Regions from separate parts of the Homo sapiens genome. Here region 1 is linked to region 2. Evidence: promoter capture Hi-C in human tissues and cell types (Jung and others, 2019). All regions are on one chromosome and are shown on one strand. The core of a region is centred on a gene start or on the middle of the fragment in contact, and the rest is flanking DNA. Distances in the headings are between cores, read along the strand shown. Region 1 overlaps BMPR1B (bone morphogenetic protein receptor type 1B). Region 2 holds the start of BMPR1B (bone morphogenetic protein receptor type 1B).

The links. The method cuts DNA at HindIII sites, captures the fragments that hold promoters and counts their contacts. A contact is called where the count stands out against the background at its distance.
Region 1: a contact is called between a fragment that was not itself captured here and the fragment with the promoter of BMPR1B in region 2, in 1 of the 25 tissues and cell types used here (aorta).

What each region holds. Positions count from the first base shown.
Region 1 is chr4:94,955,143-94,962,343 of GRCh38, forward strand. All of the region lies in intron 2 of BMPR1B (bone morphogenetic protein receptor type 1B), which reads left to right. Among named protein-coding and RNA genes, the nearest start is that of BMPR1B, 200 kb to the left of the region's middle. The HindIII fragment of the contact is 4,014 bases long and covers 1-3,296 here.
Region 2 is chr4:94,753,704-94,760,366 of GRCh38, forward strand. BMPR1B (bone morphogenetic protein receptor type 1B) reads left to right here and starts at 4,252. Exons shown (of 13, transcript NM_001203.3): 1 at 4,252-4,365. BMPR1B-DT (BMPR1B divergent transcript) reads right to left here and starts at 3,830. Exons shown (of 3, transcript NR_121610.1): 1 at 3,691-3,830; 2 at 1,127-1,202. The HindIII fragment of the contact is 6,502 bases long and covers 787-6,663 here.

The DNA of each region.
Region 1 (7,201 bases), core at 40-2,539, 200 kb after region 2:
ATGGTGTTTAGCATCTTCTGCCTTGCCTATAACTAGTGTTAGCTGAAGATGATTCAATTTCTGTCAACTGCTCTGAAGAGAGTTGCTTCCTTCAGGGCTTGAGGCTTGAGAACTGGAGAAGACAGCAGAAACTGTGTTTCATGATCTCCTTTTTTAAGGACTTTATATCCATGTGATTACTTAAGCTTAATATACACAGCAGTGAAAAATGAAAATTAATTAAAATCTAGGATGTGTAGTCAGACTAGCAGCAGTAGGAGTTTAGAAGAGAGTCATGTGTGTAAGAGCTGAGTTACAGAGAAGAGTCTTCCTGTGGGACATGCCTTAAATAGATTTGTATGTGTCTAGATAGAGGTGGACTGGACCTTCAGTCAGTGCTAATAATGTTAATACTAATAGTCAATACTGTTACTAATCCTAAGAGCAAACACTAGCAGGTGCATGCTATGCTAGGCATTGTTCCTCATGCTTTACACGTATTAGCACATTTAATTCTTTTTTTTTAAAGACAGAATCTCGCTCTGTCACCCAGGCTGGAGTGCAGTGGCACAGTCTCGGCTCACTGAAGCTCTGCCTCCTGGGTTCAAGCGATTCTCCTGTCTTAGCCTCCTGAGTAGCTGGGGTTACAGGTGCACGCCCCCACACCCGGCTAAATTTTGTATTTTTAGTAGAGACAGGGTTTCACCATATTGGTCAGGCTGGTCTCGAACTCCTGGCTTCAGGTGATCCGCCTGCCTCGGCCTCCCAAAGTGCTGGGATTACTACAGGCTTTAGCCACCGTGCCTGGCCAACACATTTAATTCTTGCAATAGGTCTCTGAGGCAGCAAATACTCTTTCCTCATTTTATAAATGAGGAATCAGATGTTGCCAATAGATTTTATTTAGTTGTGTTTGTGATTACAAGTTATACTTTATTTTTTAAGTTCGCAATAAAATGAAAACCTTTACAAATTCTTGGTATCTTACGTTTTGAAATTATAGTTCATCAGTAGTTTTAAAACCAAACATGCCTTGTAATTTCTTTCTACGTATTTAAAGACTTATTTTTAGAAGAGAGTTTTAGGTTCACCTGTTTGTTTCTTTTTTTTAATTTTTAATTACCTTTTTGTAGAGATGAGGTCTTGCTGTGTTTCCCAGGCTGGTCTCAAATTCCTGGCTTCAAGTGATCCTCCCACCTCGGTCTCCCAAAGCACATGTTTCTTTTTAAATAAAAATTGTTTTTATGATAACCCCCTCCCCATAAAGACATAATATAATTATTAACAATAACACAAAAAGATAAGAGGCTTTTATGTTTTGGAATGTGGGGTAGCTTATTTTAACCTTCTTTTTTAATTGAGGTCAGCACATCAGATTTTAATGGTTTCTTGTTTGTATGATGAAAACTAACTGGTAAAGCTCATCTCCAGAAAGAAAAAAGAACAGAGTACTGAGTTTGTGGAACATTTATAGAATAGAGTTCTGCATTTAATTTCTAGATACCTGGGTGACAATAACAGACCAGAATTTACTTTTTAACAACTTTAACAGATTTAGTGTGCTCTTATCATACTTTATAATATGAATTATGGATCATTGGCAAATCCCATCAGTAGTATTTTTGGCAGCCCTTTGATGGAAGTAGAGTTTGATTTTTACTGTGTTGTTTAAAGAAAGAATTTAATTTTTTTTTTAACTCTTCAAAAAGGCTCAGTTTCAGTGTAATTGTAACTACATCTTTTTCTAATGGGCTTTAGGTCGTATTACTTGTGACATCAAAGAAAACTGCATATTTTCAAGTAGAAATATAAATTAAGAGGTAACTAAAGATGAACACAGGCATCATTGTGGTAAAAATTGTAAAGCAGTCTTTTAAATTGTAGATTACTATGTTGATACACACAGCATTCAATGACTGTTACTGGTTTATTCATTTGGCAAAATAACAGATAATCAATAGGGCAAGTGTTGTGAGTCCTCTAATTGGGGCCATATTTCCCAGGCTATTTACCTATCTTTCTTTCTTCTCATTCACAGATCTTGCTGGGGATTAGTGTTAACAATCCTGTGTTTGAGCATGCCTGTGAAACTCGATGCCTCACCTAGGAGGCCTGCCTTCCATGGCGGTATATGAGGTGTGACTATAAAGTGTGAGACTGGTTTCCACTTTATGGACACACTGTGTACAGAGAGTCCACCTCCTGTTTCGTGTTTTTTTTTTTTTTTTTTTTTTTTTTTCCTTTTGCAACATGTGTGTGGGAGAATGTATATAAGAATTTTTTGTGGCTTTTTCTTTTTGTCTTTTCATTTTCTTATAAGACTTTAGGATGTTTAAAATGAGCTCTATTACTTGTAGTGCTGTTTGCAATTTCATGTGCCCTTTTTTCTTTTTCTTTTCTTTCTTTGTTTCCCTCTTCTTTCCTCATTGTTTGCACTGCAACTTTAGGTAAGAAATATTTTTCTTCGACTGGCCCACCTTTCTACTGTTCCTTTAGCTCCTCACAGGAATGCATCAGATGGTCTTGTGATCATTCATTTTTATGTAAGTCTCAGAGACAACATATAACTTCAGTTAATGAATTAAAGTATTTCATCAACTCTGAGATCTAAGATACATTTCGCTTTGAGATCTAAGATGATAAATGTTACTGATTGTAAGATGTATCTTTTTCAAATATGTTAAAAATGTAAAAAATACAGGTTTTTGCATCGGTGAAATATGGTAACCTTTTTATTAGGTTGTATACGGTGGGTTATCACTCATATTTGATATGAAATAAGAAGCGTAGATGGAATCAAGATCAACATGTGTGTTGATTTGTAGGCCATTATTAACTTTGGAAACTGACTACTATATATATTCTTAAAAATATATGGAATAAAAGGTAAAAAAATGTTTTCTAATTCTCAGTCCATCCATCGTTTATCAGCATTCTACTGAGAAAGCAGAATAAGCAATAATAGTGTTCTATTTGGATCATTCACATATGATTAATACAACATGGTGGATAATATCATGACCTTTAAAATAAAGCAGACTTAAGCTCTAGCATGTATCTGTGAGACCTTGAGCAGATTACTTCATTTCTTTCCGTTTCCTTGGATAATAAGCACACCTTCCATACAGAGCTGTGTTGATGAGTAAAGTATTACATAAGTAAGACATTGTATATACTGTCTGGGCATATGGCAGGTGTATTACCTTGCTAGGGTTACCCTAACAAAATACTGCAGACTGGGTGGCTGAAACAACAGATTAACTTTCTCACAGTTCTGGAGGCTGGAAGTCCAAGAACAAGATGTCCATAGGGTTGGGTTCTTGTGGGACCTCTCTCCTTGGCTTTCATTTGGCTACCCTTTGCTGCTTCCTTCTCATCATTGTCCCTCTATGAGTGTCATCTCTCTGGTGTCTCCTTCTGTCTCCTAATCTCTTATAAGAACGCCAGTCATGTTGGGTTAGGGACCACCCTAACAGCCTTGTTTTAACATAATTACCTCTTTAAAGGCTTTGTCTACAGATACTGTCATATTCTGAGACTTCATCGTATGAATTTTGGGGAGCACAATTCAGCTCATAACAGTAGGTCCACAGTGTTAGTCGTTGTTTGGAAATGTGTATTTCTTATTATGAGGATGCTCTCATGGTGTCTGGTGTCATAATTAGTAGTGTGGGTAACCTGTATCTCTGTACTCTGAAATAAGAGGACTCAGGCTGGAGTGGTCAGGGGCTCATATGAGTACATTAGGGCTTTAACTAGGGAATGAGGATGGTAATGCAAGTTTAAGCAGAATGATTACAGGTCAGGAGTTATAAACAATGATTAAAATCTTGATTTGGAATGAGCATGGTATAGTTGGAAACACGAGGAAGCTGATTTGGCTGGAAAAGAGCCTGAAGTGTGGAAGTCTTGAGAAGGTAGGTGTCAGTAGGATAAGGGAGACCAGATTTTAGGGTTGCTTGAAAGCCACGAAAAGGTGTTTTAACTCTATGATCCTAGTGATGGGGAGTCCATATTAAAGATTACAGAACTGGAGGGGGACGCAGAAAGAATTTTGGGATTTTTAGTCTACAAATTTCTTTATATTTTTAGTATAAAAAGTAAGCATTCATTTACACATGACTTGTGGAATGAAATACCTTTTCCAAAGCATTTTAAATGATCCTGTTAGTAATCCATGATAATGTTAAGGTAGTTGAAGTATTACAGTCTTATGAGACATGTAGAACACCTTGAAACAATGTGTTCAAATTATTCCCACCTCACCTCTGCCTTTGCTTTCTGCCTGATAACATTGTAAAGTAAGACCCCTTCTCCGACCCAGTCAGGATGGACTCATTGGTAATCCATGAGTCAGTAAGCATTTTGCAGAGATTCCTCAAAGTTGAATATTACTTTGGGTTTATTAAAATATTTCTTACTTCTCACATTTCTTTTACATATTTTTACCATTATTATTGTCTGAGCCACATTGGCTATCTTTATAAGGACAGCATTTTTTCTTGAAATGTAATATAAAATTTCATTACAAAATATGTAGTTGGGTTCCATTTCATAAAGTTAATTTACTTCACAGAGCTTTGGAAATACTTTGGCCAGTGAAGTTTTTGATCTTTGATTAAAATGTCAGGTAATAAAAATATTATGTGAGTTGAGATATATCTGAAATAAGATCTAGGGTAGAGAGTATGATTTTAGTTGCAATTTGGTAAGTTTTGTGCATTATTTATTATTTTTGAAATCTCCTTAAAAGTAAAAAATTAAAAGGTCAATGTGAGAGGCCCTTTAAAAATTAGTGTTCAAAGATTTAAATGTTAATCGAATTATCTGCATGTTTTCAGTGTCAAAGTAAAGGCATAAAATCCTTTGAATTATTGTTTAAATTGAGAGTTAGTGTCAACACATATTGAATTACTGCATGGTCCTAAAGACCAACTCCTTTATCTAATTAGAACTATCCGGGATGCTTTTGTCTCTTTTTACCAATATGAAGGTCCAAAAATGTAGTAAATCTTCATGTTTTAAGATGGCAGCTTTTGTCATGAGTTATCTTTTAAGGAAAGTCAAATTATTTCGATAAAAGAAAATGTCCTATCTGTATAACCAGTGCTCTGTGAAACATCTCCTTGGTACAGCTGTAGTATTAAGACTCTTGTTTATCATAAGCATAATTTCACAGCATAAATCTCCTGTATACTAGACCCTTTAAGAGATATTTATCTTCAGACATTCTTGTTTTTTCCTATTCTTTATATCAATGAGCCATTTTCAGGGACTACCCAGAGATGGTACCATCGGTTTCTTATATAGTCATAAGTCATGTGTTTTTGGAATAGGTGATAGTAATGTTAGAGCGTAACAGAAGAGAAAAATATTTGGCATTCTGAGGTAAATTAGGTCTAAGGGTCTGCTTTAATTTTAAAAACAAAAGCTCTACTGTTTCTAGCCAGAAAACCAAATATCTTGGAGTTTAACATGGAAAATGTTTATAGTGTTGTATAGTTTTATTACTACAGACAGAAGGAAAACAGTTTATTGAGTAGCTTTCAGCCAATAAGGAATTTTATACAGGCTAACAATCCAGAGGTGTATGAAAAATATATATATATATATTTTAGTTTAGAGAGAATTAATGATAAAAGCTCAAGATATTGAGCCACTTACTTTGAAACAAGTGTGATCCTTTTTGGCATTTATATGACAGTAGACAACTAGCCAAGCAGAAATGTTTTGTGAATTACAGATTTGTCCTTAAGATGAAGGGGCATGCCCTTTTGTACCCTTCTTCATTCCTGCTTGCTGGAATGCTCATTTCATGGCTCAAACTCAAGTTCATATCTTGAAGCAAGTGCTAGAAGTCACATGTTAAGGCTGGTGAAATAATGGTATAGAAGGAGCTTGAGTCTTTCAGAATTGTGGAGTTGCCTTAACAGACCTGTCTGTTATCTGTGGATTTTGTTTAGAATGAGAGCGAGCCAAACTTTTGTTTAGCACTGCTTTTTTAGGTTTTCAGTTACTCATGGTGGAACATACCAGTGACTGATCCACTGTCCCTCCCCAGCTGTATCTGGTTCAGGAGTCAGTAAATGATGGTCTGCAGGCCAAATCTAGCCCACCACCTATTATATATACAGGAAGTTTTATTGAAATTCAGCCACCCTCATTTGTTTATGTGTTGTCTAGGACAATGGCCGTTTTTCTGCTACAGTGAAGAGTTGAGTAGCTTTATCAGAGACCACATGGCCGGCAAAACCCGATTCTTTATAGAAAATGTTTGCTGATCTCTGAGGTAGTCTATTCACTGATTTCATTTGTCTTTCTTTGAAAATGTCTCTTTTATCATTCTTTTTTTCTGTATTCATGCTGATTCCTTATCAGGGTACATATTTTTGCCTCATATTTAAACTACTTTCACTGCTTTATTAAAAGCTTCCTTAAATCATTTGAAATTCCATTATTTATCTATCAGTCATACTATAACATGGCAAGCTTTCCTAAACAGAGTTTATGCTGTGTCACTCCTGTAATCAAAAACTTGCAGTGACTGTTTCCTGGAGCATTAGGTCATAACATTTTTGCTTGCCATTTATGATTCTCTATGTTCTTTCCATACTCAAGTGTGCTAACATTATTTCCTATTCGTTTATAAATTAGTTTATTTAACGTACTTTAAAACTTTTTATTTTTAATTTTTATGAATGCATAATAGTTGTAAATATTTATGGGAGTACATGTGATAAAGCATATGATGTGTGATAACCAAATTAGTGTAATTGAGATATCCATCACCTTAAACATTGATCATTTCTTTGTGTTAGAAACATTTCAATTTTACTTGTCTAGTTATTTTGAAATATATAATAAATTGTTCTTAACTATAGTCACCTTATTGTGCTATGGAAACATAGAAACTAGATTTTATTCTTTCTTTCTTTCTTTTCTTTCTTTTCTTTCCTTCCTTCCTTCCTTCCTTCCTTCCTTCCTTCCTTCCTTCCTTCCTTCTTTCCTTCCTTCCTTCCTTTCTTTTTTCTTTTTTTTGACAGTCTTGCTCTGTCACCGAGGCTGGAGTGCGGTAGCGTAATCTTGGCTGACTGAATCCTCCACTTCCCAGGTTCATGCGATTCTCTTGCCTCAGCCTCTTGTGTAGTGGGGACTACAGGCGTGTGCCACCATGCTCAGCTAATTTTTGTATTTTTAGTAGAGACAGGGTTTTGCCATGTTG
Region 2 (6,663 bases), core at 3,002-5,501:
CTTGCTTTCCTCAGTTGTAAAATGGAAATAAAATAATACCTTATTATGAGGCCTCAGGTTGATAATAAATGTGAGCTACTTAGTAGTGTGCCTGTATCATGGTAACCACTCCATAAATGTGGCTTTTATTATGGAAGGTACACATTTCACCAAGTTATTATATTAACAAGCAAAAATTTAAATACTCTGTTTGTTGAGAGGCTTAACCACTTATTTTGTATATGTAGAGTCAACATGTAGCAGTGGACAATAAGACAACCACAGCAGTAGGAACAGAAGAGCAAGAAAAAGATCTCTTTCTTACACTGAAAAATATTTCCTTCACCTGATTCCTAAAATACCATACCTGAAAAGAGGCAGACTTTTATTCCACAATTAGAGAGAAATAGTTTAAAAGCACATGTTCTAGAATGTTACTTAGCATTGTATGCCTTGATTTATGACAATATATTAATGGTGGTCAAATCCTTTACCTTCAGTTTTGAGAGAAGAGGGGGGTGGAAAAGGAAAGTGGTAGGAGTGAGGATATCCATGAAGAGGAAGGAGAAGGGGAGGCTGACAGCATAGAAGCAAGCTGTGTCCCCAGGTCTGTCCTATTTCTCTACTTATAAATTCCCCAAATAGTTCAATTCCAGTGGGCCTGGGCAAATGTCTTTCTTAATGGGAAATATGCCTGCAAGTGTTTGAGAGTCCTATATACACTGCCCTGGTTTCCTTATGTAGAAGCAGAGGGGAAAAAAATCTTGCTTTTGCTAAAATTTGTCATGCACCCAATGAAGCCCCTCCTTTCTATTCTTCTCCCCCCAGTGGTCTCTATTTACTTATTTATTTATTTAGATATGGTGTGGGCATGTGGGGGTCTCACTATGTTGCTCAGGCTGGTCTTGAACTCAAGGGATCCTCCCACCTCTGCCTCTGAGTATCTGTGACTACATGCATATGCCACCACATCTGGCTCCTATGGCCTTTAAAGGCACCAAAATCCAAGGCTACAGTTAGCAATATAGGAAGTGTCTTTTGAGTCTGCTGTCTTGGTAGTTACACCATTGTCTTGGTTCAAGTATTCCTTCTTTCAATGACAGACCCTTAATTAGTTTTGTGCTTTCATTTCTCCCTCTCCAGGTACCTCTAAATGATCTCCTGAAAATCCCAGTCCACCATTTGACTCCGTGGCTTACAAATCTCCAGTGCTTCTCCATTACCTAATAAGGAAAAAATCAATTTCATTAGTATGTTTGAGAAGGTTATTTCTGAACCCTGCTTAGCCTAAGAGAGTCATCTGCTGCACCTTCTCCTCATCACTTGGATAGCAGCACTGAGATACCAGCTGTTCTCTAAACACGCCATGCTTTTTCATAGGGTTCTCCTTGCTTAGGATGTTTATTCTCTTTCTAGCCCCGCTTTGATCTCTAAAGATCCTTCAGGACCCTTATGAAATGTGACTACTCTAGGAAGGTTTTCCTGAGATTTCTAGGCAGAATAGTTCATTTTTCTATGCTCCAAAAATTGTGTGTTCATGCATTAATGCACTTCTCATAGAAAGTTCTATATATTTTTTAAGTATCTTGTTTCTTCTGTATTATGAGTTTCAAGAAGGAATGGACAGAGTTTGCCTCTCAAATACCAGGACTTGGTTTGTCATAGGCACTCAAAAATGTTGATTTTTGAATAGCTTCTTTCCAAGGCTCCCCATTCCTGCTTACAGAAATGTTACCATCTAAGGCCCACCTCAAACACAGTTTCCCCTGTACCCCATTTTCTCCCACCTGGAGTGCTTTTTTTTTTTCATCCCAAAGACCTACAGGAATTTCCTTTGTTCTCTGATTTGGAATTTTAAAAAATATATTTAAACAAGGTATTTAAAAAAATCTGTCTCCTTGTCTGCAAGTTGATTGAAGTGGAATCTGTGTCTTCTCTATCCAGAGATGCCTGTATTCCCTGAATCAGTATCTTATACCCAGCAGATTCTCTGAAGGATATTTGCTGAATGGAGGAGTTAAGCCAAGGAAAGATAATCCTTAGTGCAACTTCTGAAAAGATACAGGTGACAATACCACTAGCTCCAAAACATTCTGCATAATGTCTGCTTTATTTCACTGCAGTTTATGAGTGCTCCAATTCTAAGGGAGATTATACAGCTGTCAAATACAAATTATCAGTAATTCACACAGTAGAAAGGATAGATTCAATCAGGTTTCTTTCCTCTTTAAACTTGCTTAATGTTGATGAGATATTGACAATGATCAACACATTACATTTTTAGTTCTATGGATTTCCAGTAAATTCTCTAAGCTTTTCTATGTATACAATCATAAGCTCTGTAATGAATTATAATTTGGTATCTTATTTTCAATATTTAAAACTCATATTTCTAAACTCACATTTCATTTTCGATAATTTATTATTTTTAGTTAATTACATAATAGCTCATAATTCCTTGCTTTGTCTTTTATTTTAATGGTGTAGAAGTTATAATTTCCGTGTCTTCAAGCCCCCTTCTCCCCACAAAACACTTAGTTAATATGAGGATGGAGATGATGAAAAATTGGATTGAGGACCAGGTAGAAGGTAATTTAGGTAGTCATATGCTTTATTGTTTTGAAAGAAAGGAGGTGGAAAAGGGAAGGGGTGGGAGTGAGGGTATCAGAGAAGAATTGGGATGAGAGTAAAATGAATGGATTTTATCTTGGAATTCTTGGGGCAAGAGGATGAGTACTGGTACTGGGGACTGGAACAGTGGTTGAATAAGGAAGGTCAGATGATGTCAATGACTAATTTCACTTGTTTTGGAAATTTTCTTTCAGATACCTTTCTTCTTCCAGTTTGGCATTAGAAATCACAATGCAGATATATCATGGGGCAAAAAGACCTTTGTGGAGACTCTAACATTGCTTTTATAGAAAAAACATGACCACATCTTCATACACTCAATAAACACTGGGGGCACCGCCTGCTTTAAGTGCAAGCTGCATAAAATAAATTGATACACAAATGAATTTTTTATTGATAAGTGCAAAAAGATTACATTTAATGTTTAAAAAAGATTTAATAGAAACAATTTAAGAAAAGGGAGTAGTTGAAAGAAAATAGTAGGCTAAGAATTGAATATAGAAATAGATATGAAGAAAATTGGAAGAAAGTTACTTCAGGGTGAAAAACTGTTAAAAAAAAAAATGACTTAGATCACACACTTGGTGGTGACCAGAGACTGTTTGTCAATATTTTGGAGGAAAAAAATTTTACAGAAGGAGAAAATAAGTAATGCTGGAGAGTGGGAAGCTGAAAGGTATTGAAAGGAAAAGAGTATTTGGAAGTCACGAGATATCTCCCTGGGAAATAGAGTTGGCAAAATGGCTGATTTTAAAGAGGTTAACTATTCTCCCCAAATTTCTGACTGTGAACTAGCTTACTTTATATTTACCCACTTAGAAAGTGTTTCAACACTTAAAGACTTAGCAAGGAGACCACAAAGTATAAGACGTTACATACTTTTCCAAAAGAAACACGACTAACTGTAAACTGTCATCAAATACAAATGGAATGGGTTTTCTCTTTTGGGTTTTATTTTTTTATTTTTAATTTTTTGGTGGTTGTTTTCGTTTAACGGTTTCAAAAAATATGTAGAAGGGAAATATTTCATTTCCCTTGGACGCTCAACTGTATATATTTCAAGATTCTTAAAACCCCCACCTCAAACTGCAGGCTTAATTTTAATGTGTTCATTTTTTACAAGGTGTGTCAACGTTTTATCAATTTCTGAAAAGTGTCTATGGCCCCGAAAAGTTGAAATCCACGACATTATATCATCTCTGCGAGCCCTTTCCAGCTCTCAAGGTACAATAATTCCACGAATCTTTGTTCTTCAAACCAGGAGGTTTTCTGGAAACCTTCTTAAACAACCAGGACAGGACCCATGAGGGAAATCTTGGGGATGCTCTGAGCAGCGGACGGGGCTTGGGAAGCGCACCCCTGTACCCGGGCTGCCTCCGGCCCGCACCCCGCCGCTCCCCAAGTCGGCTCCGCACTCCGCACACAGGCGGCGGCGCTGGGGCCGCTCCAAGTGCGTTGAGAAGTGTAATCCCTCCGCTAAGTACTTGGCTCTCAGTCTCCAATCACTAGTGGGAGCTGGAGAGGGCAAGTGAAAAAAAAAAATTCCAGAGGCAGCCGAGGAGCGAGAGGGAAAAAAAAAAAAAAAAAAAAAAAAAGTCCCGCGGTGGCGGCGGCGGCGGCGGCGGAGCGGCCGCGGCGGCCAGAAGTTGACGGCGCAGCCGGGCGCGGGGCGCGGAGTCGGCGGGGCCTCGCGGGACGCCGGGCAGTGCGGAGACCGCGGCGCTGAGGACGCGGGAGCCGGGAGCGCAGCCGCGGGTAAGGCGCGCGCGGCGGGGCCCCGTCCCCTGCGGGTGGCCGAGTTCCCGAGCGCGCGGGAGGCGGCCGAGCCGGCGAGAGCCGGGCAGAGCGAGGGGCGGCGCGGGACGGGTAGCGGCTGGGTGCGGAGCTGGGCGGCGGTCGCCCTAGGCAGGACGGAGCGCGCGAGGGAGAGGGCGAGAGCGAGGGCGGGCTGCGCGGCCGTGGGGCGGTGGCGGCGGCGGGGAGGGGGTCAGGCGGTGGCCGCCTCGGCTTTGTGCGCGGGCGGCTCTGCCGGGACCCCGAGGCCTCGTGCCTGCGCAGGCGAGGAGTCGGGGCAGCGGCGGCGGCGGGCGGGACACGTGCTTCGGGCTGTAGGGACGCCCCAAGGCAGGGAGTCGGACCTGCGAGCGGAGGGATGGGGCGGGAGGGCGAGCTGAGGGCAGTCGCGGAATCCGGGAAATGGGAGGGAGCCCGGCGGGGCGGGGGCCCAGGGCCAGCCCAGGCGGGACCCGCAGGCACCCACCTGCCCCGGACGCCTCCCGAGACCCAGCCTTGCCGTGGGGGAAAGTGCGCAGCGGGCTGGTCCCGGCGCCTTGGACTGGGCTCCGTCTCTGCTTCAGTTGCCTGTCTCTTCTCCTCTCTCTCCTGCTTCTCTCTCTCTATGCCTCTCTCTCAAGTTCTGGGTCTTTCATTCTCTCCCTTTTCTTCCTTTCTCCCTTCCTCTCCTTATTGCTATCCTTTGCCTCTCCCCCCGGTCTCTCTTTCCTTCCGTGCGTCTGTCTCCCTCTCCCCACCGCCTGCTCTGGCTCTCCCAGTGTGTCCCTCCTCTGTCCCTTCATCCTCTTCCCTCTGTCACTTTCGCACAATCTTTTGGTCTCTCTCTCTCTCTCAAGAGGCTTTCGCTCCCGGTCTTCCTGGCTCCCCTGTCTCTTGCTCTCTGCGCCCATCTCTCTGCTCGTCCCTCTTTCTGTCCAGGCTCCGTGTTTCCGCCTGTGTTTGGCGGTGTTGGAGAAGAGCCTCTGGAAGTTGTCCGCTGTGGTGCGGGTCTTACTTCTTTAGAGCTGCACCCCTCCAGCTGGGTCCTGCTGTTTGTTCTGAATGGAAACGCTGCAGTTCCCTTGAGTTATTAGAAACTGCTCTTTTCTTAGCCACCTTTCCAGCAAGGTGAGGTCAGTGACTACGAGCGGCCACAAAGGTGCCAGTGAAAGACAACGGAGGAAGAGAGCCGTTTCACTACCTCCAACAGATAAAGAAAATGTGTTAATACCAAACTTACCTGCAGCAAAGCAGAGCCACCTGAGAAAAGGTTCTTGAGTTCTGCAAAGAAACATAAAAGGCTCCACTGGAAATGAGAGGGTTCAGCTAAAAAGTGTTTGCAAATAATTTGAAAAAGCACTTAATGGAAATCTCTTGCTGTGCTAAATTGATGCCAACGAATCTCTGTTTTCTTACATATATTTTTAGGATTCCAGTGACAACTCTCCTAATTATTGTTTTGGGCAAGTTATGGGAAATGTCCTGTGTCAACTGGGATGTTAGTATTTAAGAAAATATTCAGTCTTTGTACTTTATACCCCTTTACACTCTAGTGATCAAGAAGAATTATTTCTAGCTGTAAAGAAAATAGTAAAGGATTCGTCAGTAATTTTAAAACATGAGACATGCCGGTGATCAATAATGTTTTTGGAAAACTTTCATTATAAGGATGTTTTGAAGGATGTTACATCTTAGTGAAATATGTAAGTTATTACACACTTAGATCATTGTGCAATGCAAAAAAGTTTGTGTTATAAGCAGATCATAGTAGTGATGTCTTTTTATGGGAAACATAGCTGGGAAATTAATTGCTCTGATTTTCACTGTTTTCTTTAGTCATGCATAATGTACCTTTGTGTTTAGCAAAATATGGCCTAGAGCTACAAAACTTGATACAGTGTGTTATTTGTCCAATCTGAATTACCATTTAGAAAACCACCTTTTCCTTTTAGTTACATGATATAAGTTGATATGATCTCATTACTCATGTGCTAGGGGCCGCTGATGAATTTTAATGGCACTGATTTGTGTTTTTAAATCAAAATGTTAGTTTTTGGTGAGTTAAAATCTTGATTTATGTCATGTTAGTGAATCATCACTATTTATAGGGGCTTTGCCACCTTGTCTGCCAGGTGCTGCCCAGCATTTAGTCTAGGCTAGGTTGTCTGAAATTCCCTGTTAGATTATTGTCCCTGAGTGACGTGCTGCCACGGCCTGCTTATGTATGTTTCTCTAAATGTTCCAGTCGTTAAATAATATTTATTAAAAGGAAATTGACTT